Regions from separate parts of the Homo sapiens genome. Here regions 2 and 3 are each linked to region 1. The links are contacts of gene promoters, found by promoter capture Hi-C in blood cells and fetal thymus (Javierre and others, 2016). All regions are on one chromosome and are shown on one strand. The core of a region is centred on a gene start or on the middle of the fragment in contact, and the rest is flanking DNA. Distances in the headings are between cores, read along the strand shown. Region 1 holds the start of HECA (hdc homolog, cell cycle regulator). Region 2 overlaps FILNC1 (FOXO induced long non-coding RNA 1). Region 3 has its middle 7.9 kb from the start of FILNC1.

Evidence for each region. Contacts are between HindIII fragments. The CHiCAGO score rates a contact against its expected background, and 5 or more counts as called.
Region 2: a contact is called between a fragment that was not itself captured here and the fragment with the promoter of HECA in region 1, in 1 of 17 cell types (monocytes). The highest score is 5.9, in monocytes.
Region 3: a contact is called between a fragment that was not itself captured here and the fragment with the promoter of HECA in region 1, in 1 of 17 cell types (M2 macrophages). The highest score is 6.5, in M2 macrophages.

What each region holds. Positions count from the first base shown.
Region 1 is chr6:139,133,439-139,136,812 of GRCh38, reverse strand. HECA (hdc homolog, cell cycle regulator) reads right to left here and starts at 1,733. Exons shown (of 4, transcript NM_016217.3): 1 at 1,146-1,733. The coding sequence starts at 1,416. RefSeq lists enhancers at 662-781, 1,647-1,941, 3,220-3,269 and silencers at 892-1,161, 1,562-1,641, 1,752-1,941. The HindIII fragment of the contact is 5,734 bases long and covers 1-3,374 here.
Region 2 is chr6:139,841,955-139,845,328 of GRCh38, reverse strand. All of the region lies in intron 1 of FILNC1 (FOXO induced long non-coding RNA 1), which reads right to left. Among named protein-coding and RNA genes, the nearest start is that of FILNC1, 73 kb to the right of the region's middle. The HindIII fragment of the contact is 3,555 bases long and covers 1-3,374 here.
Region 3 is chr6:139,761,487-139,764,860 of GRCh38, reverse strand. No RefSeq gene overlaps it. Among named protein-coding and RNA genes, the nearest start is that of FILNC1, 7.9 kb to the left of the region's middle. The HindIII fragment of the contact is 2,437 bases long and covers 343-2,779 here.

The DNA of each region.
Region 1 (3,374 bases), core at 484-2,983:
AATAACAAAAATTAGCCGGGCGTGGTGGCGGGCGCCTGTAATCCCAGCTACTCGGGAGGCTGAGGCAGGAGAATCGCTTCAGACCGGAAGACGGTGGTTGCAGTGAGCCGAGATTGCGCCACTACGCTCCAGCCTGGGCGAAATTGCAAACTCCGTCTAAAAAAAAAAAAACAAAACAAAAAAGTGCCTGATCTACATAAAGAATGGCTTCAAAAGCTGACGCTATAAATTAAAAGCCAGATATAACAATTCAAATCTCCCTTCATTAAAATACCTACGTTGTCTTCCTGGAAAAAGTGCCTGACTAGAGGAATTCAAAGAACTGTCCAAATAAGTAAGTGTTTGCCCAGCACCTTATAACGAAAACCATGGCTCTGTAATGAGAACAGAAATCCTGTCACATCTGGGCCAGTTCCTAAGTGTCCCCTCAAAAGGAACATTCAGGCACTACCTAAGATTATGAGGCTTCCTTCTGAAAATGTTAAGCACAATGACATAGAGAATGATTTTTCTTTTCTTTCTTTTCTTTTTTTTTTTTTTTTTTTAACTCCGGGCTGAGAACGGAAGTCAAGTTCAGATTCTCTTCCTTCCTCAAGCAAGCCAAAAAATTAAAGAGCAAACACAGAGGCCCTAAATGTCTCGAGGCCTCTTCACCTGTGGCGATCGACGCAGCAAGCCTGGGTGTGCTAAGAATTGAGGCTCTCTCTCCTTCATTCCGGGGGTTACGGGTGGCCTTGGAGCACCGGGAAGAATTAACCGGTGCCTAAGTTTTCAATCGGATCATTCTTCTCAACTTGGGCGGCTCTTTCCTCCCTTCCTTCCTCCCTTCGGCCCGGCACACACGGCGGGGCAGTGCCAGCGCGGGCAGCAGGCTGGGCCCGAGGGCAGCGCTGCCGCAGCCGGGAGCCCCTCAGAGTGTGGGGCGCGGGCTGCCCCCCGCGCGGACACCGGGCAGGGGCCGCAGATCTGTCCCCGCCGCCAGGCGTGGGGACCGCGAAGGGGCAGCCGCGGCGGGGCGGAGGGGCGGGGTGAGCACTTCCTGACTCTCGCATTGTCCACGCACCGCCCGCGCCACCCAGGGCCCCGCCACCGCGCCGTCCCCGTCGGGGAGGAAGTTGGCGCTCGCCCCGCCAGCCCCGTCTTACCGTTTTTGGCATCGCCCGCGGCCGCAGCCCCCGCGGCGGCCGCAGCGTTCGCGGCGCCAGTCCCCGCGCCTCCGGCGCCCGCCGCGCCTCCGGCGCCCGGCGCGCCCGCCGCCGCCGCCCCGCAACCGGCCGCCGCCGCCAGGGCCCCCCCGGCCGCCGCTCCCGCCGCGCCCGCCGCTGCCAGGGCCCCGGCTCCATTTTCCTGCTCGTCGCCGCTGCTGTTGGCGCGCTTGTTTTTGCGGCCGCCTTTGCTGTTTTTGGGGTTGGGCATCTCGCTCGCTCGCGTCCAGGTAGGTGCCCGGCGTCAGCGAAGGCGGATCCCAGAGGCACGGCCGTTCCCGGCCCTGCGTGAAGCCGGCTCCGGGAAAGAACGGAGGGCGCGAGCCGGCGGTTCCCTCGGCTCCCGTCTAGCCGCACGGCCCGTGCCGCGCCATCCTGGCCGCCGCGCCCTCTCCGGCTTCCTGGAGCCGGCACGCGGCCACCCGAGGCTCGCAGCCGCGCGGGCGCCGCGGGCCCGGGGCGCAAGCGAGACGCTCCCGAGCCGGAGGGAAAAGGCGGGTCTCCGGCTTGTTTTGATTCGGCTGCACTGACACGCTCTGGGCCCGCCCCCTCCCGTGACGACACTGGGGATTCGGCCTGGCCGCGCCCACCAGGTGACCTCACGGCTGACGGGACCGCCCGCGTGACGTCACGCCCCGCGCGGGGCCTGCCCACCTCGAGTGACGTCATCCAGGCGTCCCCACCCGGGCCTCCTGGACTCCCGGGCGTTCATGAGCTGCCCTGCTTGACTTGCTCCACCCGCCAGTGCAGTGGCATGTGGAGTTCTTCGGTGGCCTCCTGGCCTTAATGTAATTGAGGCTTAGAACAGTATGGTCTGGAAAAATAAGCTGTGACTAGAGCAAGAATGGAAAACAAAAGATTTTGGATTAATAACTCATTCAAAGGCTATGCCTTTCAGTAACAGTAATTAAAGAAACAGGGGACCGGGCGCGGTGGCTTATGCCTGTAATCCCAGCACTTTGGGAGGCCGAGGCGGGTGTATCACGAGGTCAAGAGATCGAGACCATCCTGGCCAACGTGGTGAAACCCTGTCTCTACTAAAAATACAAAAAAAAATTAGCTGGGCGTGGTGGCGTGCGCCTGTAGTCCCAGAAACTCGGGAAGCTGAGGCAGGAGAATCACTTGAACCTGGGATCCGAGATCGCGCCACTGCACTCCAGCTTGAGCAACAGAGCGAGACTCTGTCTCAAAAAAAAAAAAAAAAAAAGAAAAGAAAGAAAGAAACAGGGTAGAGTTCCCAGACAATGGGGATGAACACCAGGGTCCTGAATGGGAAGCCTTCACAGTCTGGTGGTGAAAACAATTCACTCAAACAAGACCCATCATCCAGGGATGTAACTAGATGTTGCCTGGACTCTGAAGCAGTCCCTGCTTGGGGGGAACCCATCCCTATGCATAGGGCTGAGTTGTCCTGAAAGATAGTGAAAGATAGGTAGCCAGGTTATGAGCAGTAGGAGATTAGGTGACACCAGTGAAGACAGGCAATATGAGGGCAGGGGACCCCTGGGAAGAGCTCCCCTTGATCTCTTTCTGCAATTCTATTCTACCTTTTCGGCCAACTCCTTCCCTTCCTTCAGGTCTCAGCTCAAATACATCACTTCCACAGAGACCTTCCCAGGAGAGCTGTCAGAAGTTCCACCCTGTTATTTTCCTCCTCCATCTCTAATTATGTTGGCAATGTAGGTGTTTACTTATTTCTTGTATATCTCCCTCTCACTGAAATGAAACCTCCATGGATAGATTTTATCTGCCTTGGGCACATCAGAGAACAGCTGGCATAAATTTGTTGAATGTATAAATTAGGTTCCTTCCTCACGAACTGTGGAGGAAAGACTAGTTTAGCTGACAGCTTTACAGTGTTCCCCTTTTATAGTGTAATCTTTAATTCAGCCCTTTAGTAAAAGCTCTGTCACGGTGTTGTTGTTACCATTAGAGGGTCTTGACTGCAAGTCGTCCAAGTTCTTGGCATTTTGAACAAACAATTGGACCAAACGCCCAGCAAAGCAAGGAAAGAAGAAAGCAGGGATTTATTGAGAATGAAAGTACACTCCACAGTATGGAAGCGGCCCCAGCGGTGGCTCAAGGTTCCGGATGCAGAATCTTCTGAGGTCCAAATACCCCCTGGAGGTTTCTCATGTAAATGAAGTGGTGACGCACAATTAGTCTGAT
Region 2 (3,374 bases), core at 526-3,025, 710 kb before region 1:
TTTTCCCTTCATCTTTTAAGTTACAGGGTATATGTGCAGGATGTGCATGTTTGTTACATCTGTAAACAAACCAAAAAAATGTGCCGTGGTGGTTTGCTGGACAGATCAATCCATCACCTAGGTAATAAGCCCAGCATCCATTAGCTATTCTTCTTGATGCTCTCCCTCCCTCAGTCCCCAACAGGCCCCAGTGTGTGTTGTTCCCTGCAATGTGTCCATCATCTGCAGGGATGCTCTTATCATCCAGTTCCCACTTATAAGTGAGAACATTTGGTGTTTGGTTTTCCTGCTTACGCATTTGTTTGCTGAGAATAACAGCTTCCAGCTCCATCCATGTCCCTGCAAAGGACATGATCTCGTTCCTTTTTATGTTGCATAGTATTCCATGGTGTATATGTACCACATTTTCTTTATCCAGTCTATCATTGATGGGCATTTGGGTTGATTCCACGTCTTTTCTATTGTGAATAGTGCTGTAATGAACATACCCATGCATATGTCTTTATAATAGAATGATTTATATTCCTTTGGGTATATACCCCATAATAAGATTGCTGGGTCAAATGGTATTTCTGCCCCTAGATCTTTGAGGAATCTCCACATTGTCTTTCACAATTGTTAAACTAATTGAACACTCCCACCAACAGTGTAAAAGTGTTCCTTTTTCTCCACAGCCTCGCCAGCATCTGTTGTTTCTGGACTTGTTAATAATTGCCATTTGGACTGGCGTGAGATGGTATCTCATTATGGTTTTGATACCATTAGAGAAAACTCATTTGATTTCTCTAATGATCAGTGATGTTGAGCTTTTTTTTCATGTTTGTTGGCAACATGAATGGCTTCTTTTGAGAAGTATCTGTTCATGTCCTTTGCTCACTTTTTAATGAAGTTGTTCATTTTTTTCTTGTAAATTTGTTTAACTTTTTTGTAGTCTCTGGATATTAGACCCTTGTCAGATGGATAGATTGCAAAAATTTTCTCCCATTCTGTAGGTTGCCTGTTCACTCTGATGATAGTTTCTTTTTCTATGCAGAAGATCTTTAGTTTAATTAGATCCCATTTGTCAATTTTGGCTTTTGTTGCAATTTTTTTGGCGTTTTCATCATGAAATCTTTGCCTGTGCCTATGTGCTGAATGGTATTGGCTAGATTTTCTTCTAGGATTTTTATAGTTTGGGGTTTTATATTTAAGTCTTTAAACCATGTTGAATTACTTTTTGCACATCATGCAACGAAGGGGTCCAGTTTCAATTTTCTGCATAGGGCTAGCCAGTTCTCTAAGCACCATTTATTAAATAGGGAATCCTTTCCCCATTGCTCATTTTTGTCAGGTTGTTGAAGATCAGATGGTTGTAGGTGCTTGGTCTTATTTCTGAGTTCTCTATTTTGTTCCATTGGTCTATGTGTCTGTTCTTATACCCCACTACCACGCTGTTTTGTTACTGTAGCCTTGTAGTATAGTTTGAAGTCAGGCAGCATGATGCCTCTAGCTTTGTTCTTTTTGCTTAGGGTTGTCTTGGCTATTCGGGCTTAAAGAAGAGTTTTGCTGCTGTTTATCTTTTTCTCTTTTGCTTTTTGATCTGGAAGATCAAGGATGGCACTACTTCATCACTTAATGGTTGTATTCTTATTAACATAAAAGGCTATCAAATGTCCATCCTAGTAATGACTCTTTTAAGTTCTCACCACATGCTATTGGCTTCCAGTCTTTATTTAAGAAAAAAAGGAGGCCGGGCGAGGTGGCTCACACCTGTAATCCCAGCACTTTGGGAGGCCAAGGCAGGAGGATCACAAGGTCAGGAGTTTGAGACCAGCCTGGCCAATATGGTGACACCCCGTCTCTACTAAAAATACAAACATTAGCCGGGCGTGGTGGTGCACACCTATAATCCCGGCTACTTGGGAGGCTGAGGCAGAAGAATCACTTGAACCTGGTAGGCGGAGGTTGCAGTGAGCCAACATCATGCCACTGCACTCCAGCCTGGGTGACAGAGTGAGACTCCATCTCAAAGAAAAGAAAAAAAAGGATGCTATATTCTCATCGTTACAGGTTTTTCTGAGAACAACGGGTAGAGCATTTTATTGGAATATAGCATTCCTGTGGGGAGAAAAGGTTTGTAGGAACTAAATCATGCAGATTTTTAAGTGTCCAATCCAATCTGTCGTGTGAGAGGTTATATAATTTATCCATTCCACAAATATGTAACAAGGGCACACTATCAAAAGAATGATCTGGGAAAGAAGGAGACAGACTGGGTTGAAATTTTATCTTGGATAACTGGAAGGATAGGGAAGACAATAACAGAAATATTAAATTGAAAAAGTAAAGAAAATTAGCTGCCAAAAAAATTTTGATGAGGAAAGGAGATGGCTTAGGAAGAACCTTGAAATACTGACATATTTAATAGTTTGATAGAGAAGAAGGAGCCTGCAAGGGCAACACAGATGGAAGAGAGAGATAGGTATGAGGAAAATAGAGGAATTGTGGAAGATAAGGAAAGAGAATAATTCAAAAGGCAAGAAGATGCCAACATTGTCCAATGCTGCTGAGAGACCCAGTGAGATGAAAGGCAAAGAAATATTCATTCAGGTTGCAGGTATCAAAATGTACTTATATGAGGAGATAAACAATCAGTCTTTAAGAGGGAAGCTAATACAATTATAAATATAAAGAAATAAAGTGGAAATATATAAAGAAAAAAGATACAGTTTTATTGGGAAAGTAAATCATTGATTAATTTTATAAAGGGTAGGTATGAGCTTGTAATTTCTATACTACACAGCCTTTAGTAGAAATGAGAAAATGAAGATAAAGAAACTCAACAAAAAACAACTTGAGTGACCAGGATCATGTTATTCAGTCATATTTTGTGTGTTCGAAAAGAGGGGGTGCAACATTTCAAATTAGATAAAAAAGGTGACCCTGGAGAATCCATATAGAGAGAATCTTGCTTTCTCTATGGTTAAGGGATTATCTATCATGCATCAGATGCCTTTTTGGGTATTTTATACATGACTCCATTCAATGCTTACAATGATAGCTAACACATACTACTATGGGGTAGGCATGTTTCTATGGGCATTATGTGTAACACCTCACTGATAACTTCCATAATGTTGGTAATACTATTCCCTTTTTTAAAATGAGAATAATGAAAGCATTCAGTACGATTAGGTAGTTTGCTGAGAGTCACAAACTAATAAACAGCACATCTGGATTCAAATCCCACTGAGTTCAAAGTCCATGTTACTTTCATTGCATTTATTACTTGGCTCAAAAGAGGAAGAGAAGTGAAACAGAACAAGGAAGTGAAATCAGAGATGCATGTCAAAATGTTTAAATTTAATTAACAAACCAGCGGCATTTTGGCTCAG
Region 3 (3,374 bases), core at 312-2,811, 630 kb before region 1:
TCTTCCTCCTAACTTGGTATTTATTCAGGACATAGCTCTAACCCTGATGACAACAGCATTCCTGACCTATGAGCTGCTCAAAATGCTAAGATGGTCCTGAAGGTGAAATAGACACCTTCTCCCCGTGCGGTCAGCTGCCATTCCCACTTGTGCTTCTGCAGCCTCCTCATTTTGTCACAGTGTTTTTCTAAATGAAAGAGGTCTGGACAGCTGAAGAAGAGGAACTGAAGCCAAATGAGAAATATCCTAGATTCTCTTCTTATGACAATGCTCAAGACTCACAGCTGAGGCAATTGTAGAAAGAACTGGAGCTTGGGCTTAGACCATGTGACTTTGGAAGCTTGTATATCATGAATGAAGCCCAATAAATTCAATTCAGTTGTTCAAACTCTATGCAGGCCTATTTTGATCAAAGTCCTGTAACTGTTAGATATGCAAAACTTATTAAGGGAGAATAATGAAAGATATGGAGGGATAAGACAATTTAACATATATTTTATGTGTTCTCATCTCATCCAGTGGTATCTGTAAATGGGCTCTGTAATCAATATTTTTGCAGATGAGGAGGATGAGGCCCAGATGGGTTGGATAACTTGTCCAAGGTCACACAATTTATAAGCTGCAGAGGGAAAATCCAGTCCCACAAAATCCTGGCTCTAAAGCCTGTGCTCTTTACACTTACATTGTCAGAGGGAGAAATACAAACACACAGAGAAGCATTTTTTTAAGAGGAGGGCTCAGGGAACAGAATATTTTCACAATTCTAGATGATGGGGTATTTTCGCAATAGGTGAACTGTGGAGGAGTAGGCTGGAAGGAGGTTGAGGCCATATGATGGAGAACTATGCTAAAGATCACCACTTTAGACTCAATTATGTAAACACTGAGGAGTCACCAGTGACTGACCAAGTATGAGGGAGTTCTGGGTATGGACAATGAGGGGGTACCCTGTCTATAAAAAATTTTAAAGCTATAATAAAACCCAGTCATTCTGATTCTAATCATCACTTCCTGCCGACATTTCTAAACAATGAAGTGATAAAATACTCCTCCTCAAAAAAAAAAAAAAATCATTTCTGGTCTTAGTTTTAAACAATTGCTGCCATTACCATTGAGTTTTAATAATACATTGTGTGGTTTGAATTAGCACATTTTTATTATTTGTCCTTTATTAAATATTGTGTTCAACATAAAAGTTAACTCAGCAAATTCCCAGTTAAACAATTGTTCCCCAAACGTACCCCACTCAGCTACAATCATTCAGGATAAATTGGGAAACCTTGGCAATTGCCTTGGGCAGACATAGCTGCAATTCTAAGTCAAAGAAACAGAACTTGAGTTATTATGGGATCACTTGGAGTTTCCTATTTTCGTTTAAATGCAAAATGCAAGTATAACATTTTTTATTTGATAAGTGCAAATTTTAGTTCATATATAAAATATCCCAAATTTGCACAATCTTTAGAATCAAAATCACTTCTTTTCATTTGTTTTAAAACAGAAGATTTAAAAATTATATTGATTGCTAATTACTACATGAAAATAATTGCATCACAAAGTGAGGGGTGTTATAAAAATGATCCAGCCAAGGTGTCAAAAATGCTAGGAATGCCACTGGAAGTCACTGAATGTTTTTGATGGCAGGGGTCACGAAAGAATGGTTAAGGTGAATCATAAAAGGCATCATCATTATACCAATCTATGTTATGTATATGTCTAGTTACCAATATGTTTTCCTAGAGAAGGAAAAAATGTGGAGTTTAAGTTGTCAAAAGCAATAAAAAGTATTAAGTGGTGGAGAGTATTCTGGCATGGCTCCTTTAAGCTGCTGCATTTTCATGGTAGAATATCAATCCTACCCGCAGCCGGTCTATCCTTGAAAGCAGACAGTTCTCATTTTAAACTGCCAGCAGAGAACACTACCACTTCAGGGAGTCAGTAGGGAATGATGCAATTTGGAAATTTTTGTCACCCAATATGTTGGGAAATGACAGTTGAGAAAATCATTATTTAGGTTTTTTTGTTAAGGACACATGGTTGTCATAACCTGTATTGTTGTTTACAATATTCAGTGCACTTCCCTATGGGAGGATTGCACATCCCTTTCTATAGAAGACTGGCCTGGCCTGATGACTGATTTGCTTCAGTCAGCAGACGTGATGACTGTTCTGGGCCAAAGTTTTAAGAGCTACTACGTGGTTTGCTGTGTCCTTTCCCCAAGTCTCTGTGATCATGAAAGCATGAAGCCTCTATTCACCAAGGGTTCCTTAATAACTTCAATGAGCAGAGTCCTTTTTTAACCCATTGTGAACGTGTTGCCTGAACAAAAATTAAATATTGTAGTTTTAAGCAACTGACATTTTCTGGCACAAACTAGCCCTACCTAATTGATAGAGTAGTCCTTCCATTTGGGCAGATACTCTCATATCTATTCCCAAATTTAGACGGACTAGAGGAAATTATTTCATAGAACTCCTGTATAAATATCAGTAGAATTGCTTTTACTGAACTACATTTGATGTGAAGATTGTTCATACTGAAAGACACTGTAAACACACCTCATGAAACTCAAGCTGGTCCACGCTTAAGAATTGTCATGAATGAGAGGCATTATGCAGTCATAACTTGATGAACATCCTCAAGAGGTCTTTGCCTGTATTTTGCATTAAGAGTCGTTACAGTTCTCCTGACCAGTGTGAACTATTTCTGTCACTTAAACACTATCTATTGTGTACCTGATCACGTACCTAATTTATTTCAGGTTAGTTGCCAGGAAGCTTAGGCCCAAATTTTTGGCAAGGGTGCAAGTGTTTGCAGGATCTGTTTTCAATTTAGTCTTAATTTTAACTCTATTTTATGAATCTCGTTTCGTGTTCCTTTTTTTAACAATTTTTAATGATATGTTGTATTTAATCTCATTAATCTTTTCAAATCCTTTAAAAAACAAGAGTGGATATAAATAAATTTTATAGAGAATATCATTGCCATGTGACTGACTCTTTCTAAACATGTAAATGTCCTCAATCTACATCATGTCACCAAAATTGCTCCTAAAAAATATCACAATTTAGTAGACGCTCCCTTAAACCTGAGCCCTGAATAGCTCATGGCCACGTCAAATTGAAGAGGTTGTCATTTGAGAAAAAAAGTTCTGCCAGCTGCGTTTGCTTTAATAGTTTCTGTTTGCTTGTTTGTTTCCAGAAAACCTTCAGGGTTCTAATTTTTTTATCTAATTAATATAATTCTTATACTTAATTGAGCTCCCCTTCCTACTGAGTAAAACTAAGCACTATTAAATCCCATAAAGGAATGGAAGACATATTCCTAGGCTTCTGAAACTTTTCATAGGCTAGCTGGGGAGTTCAGTAACTAAA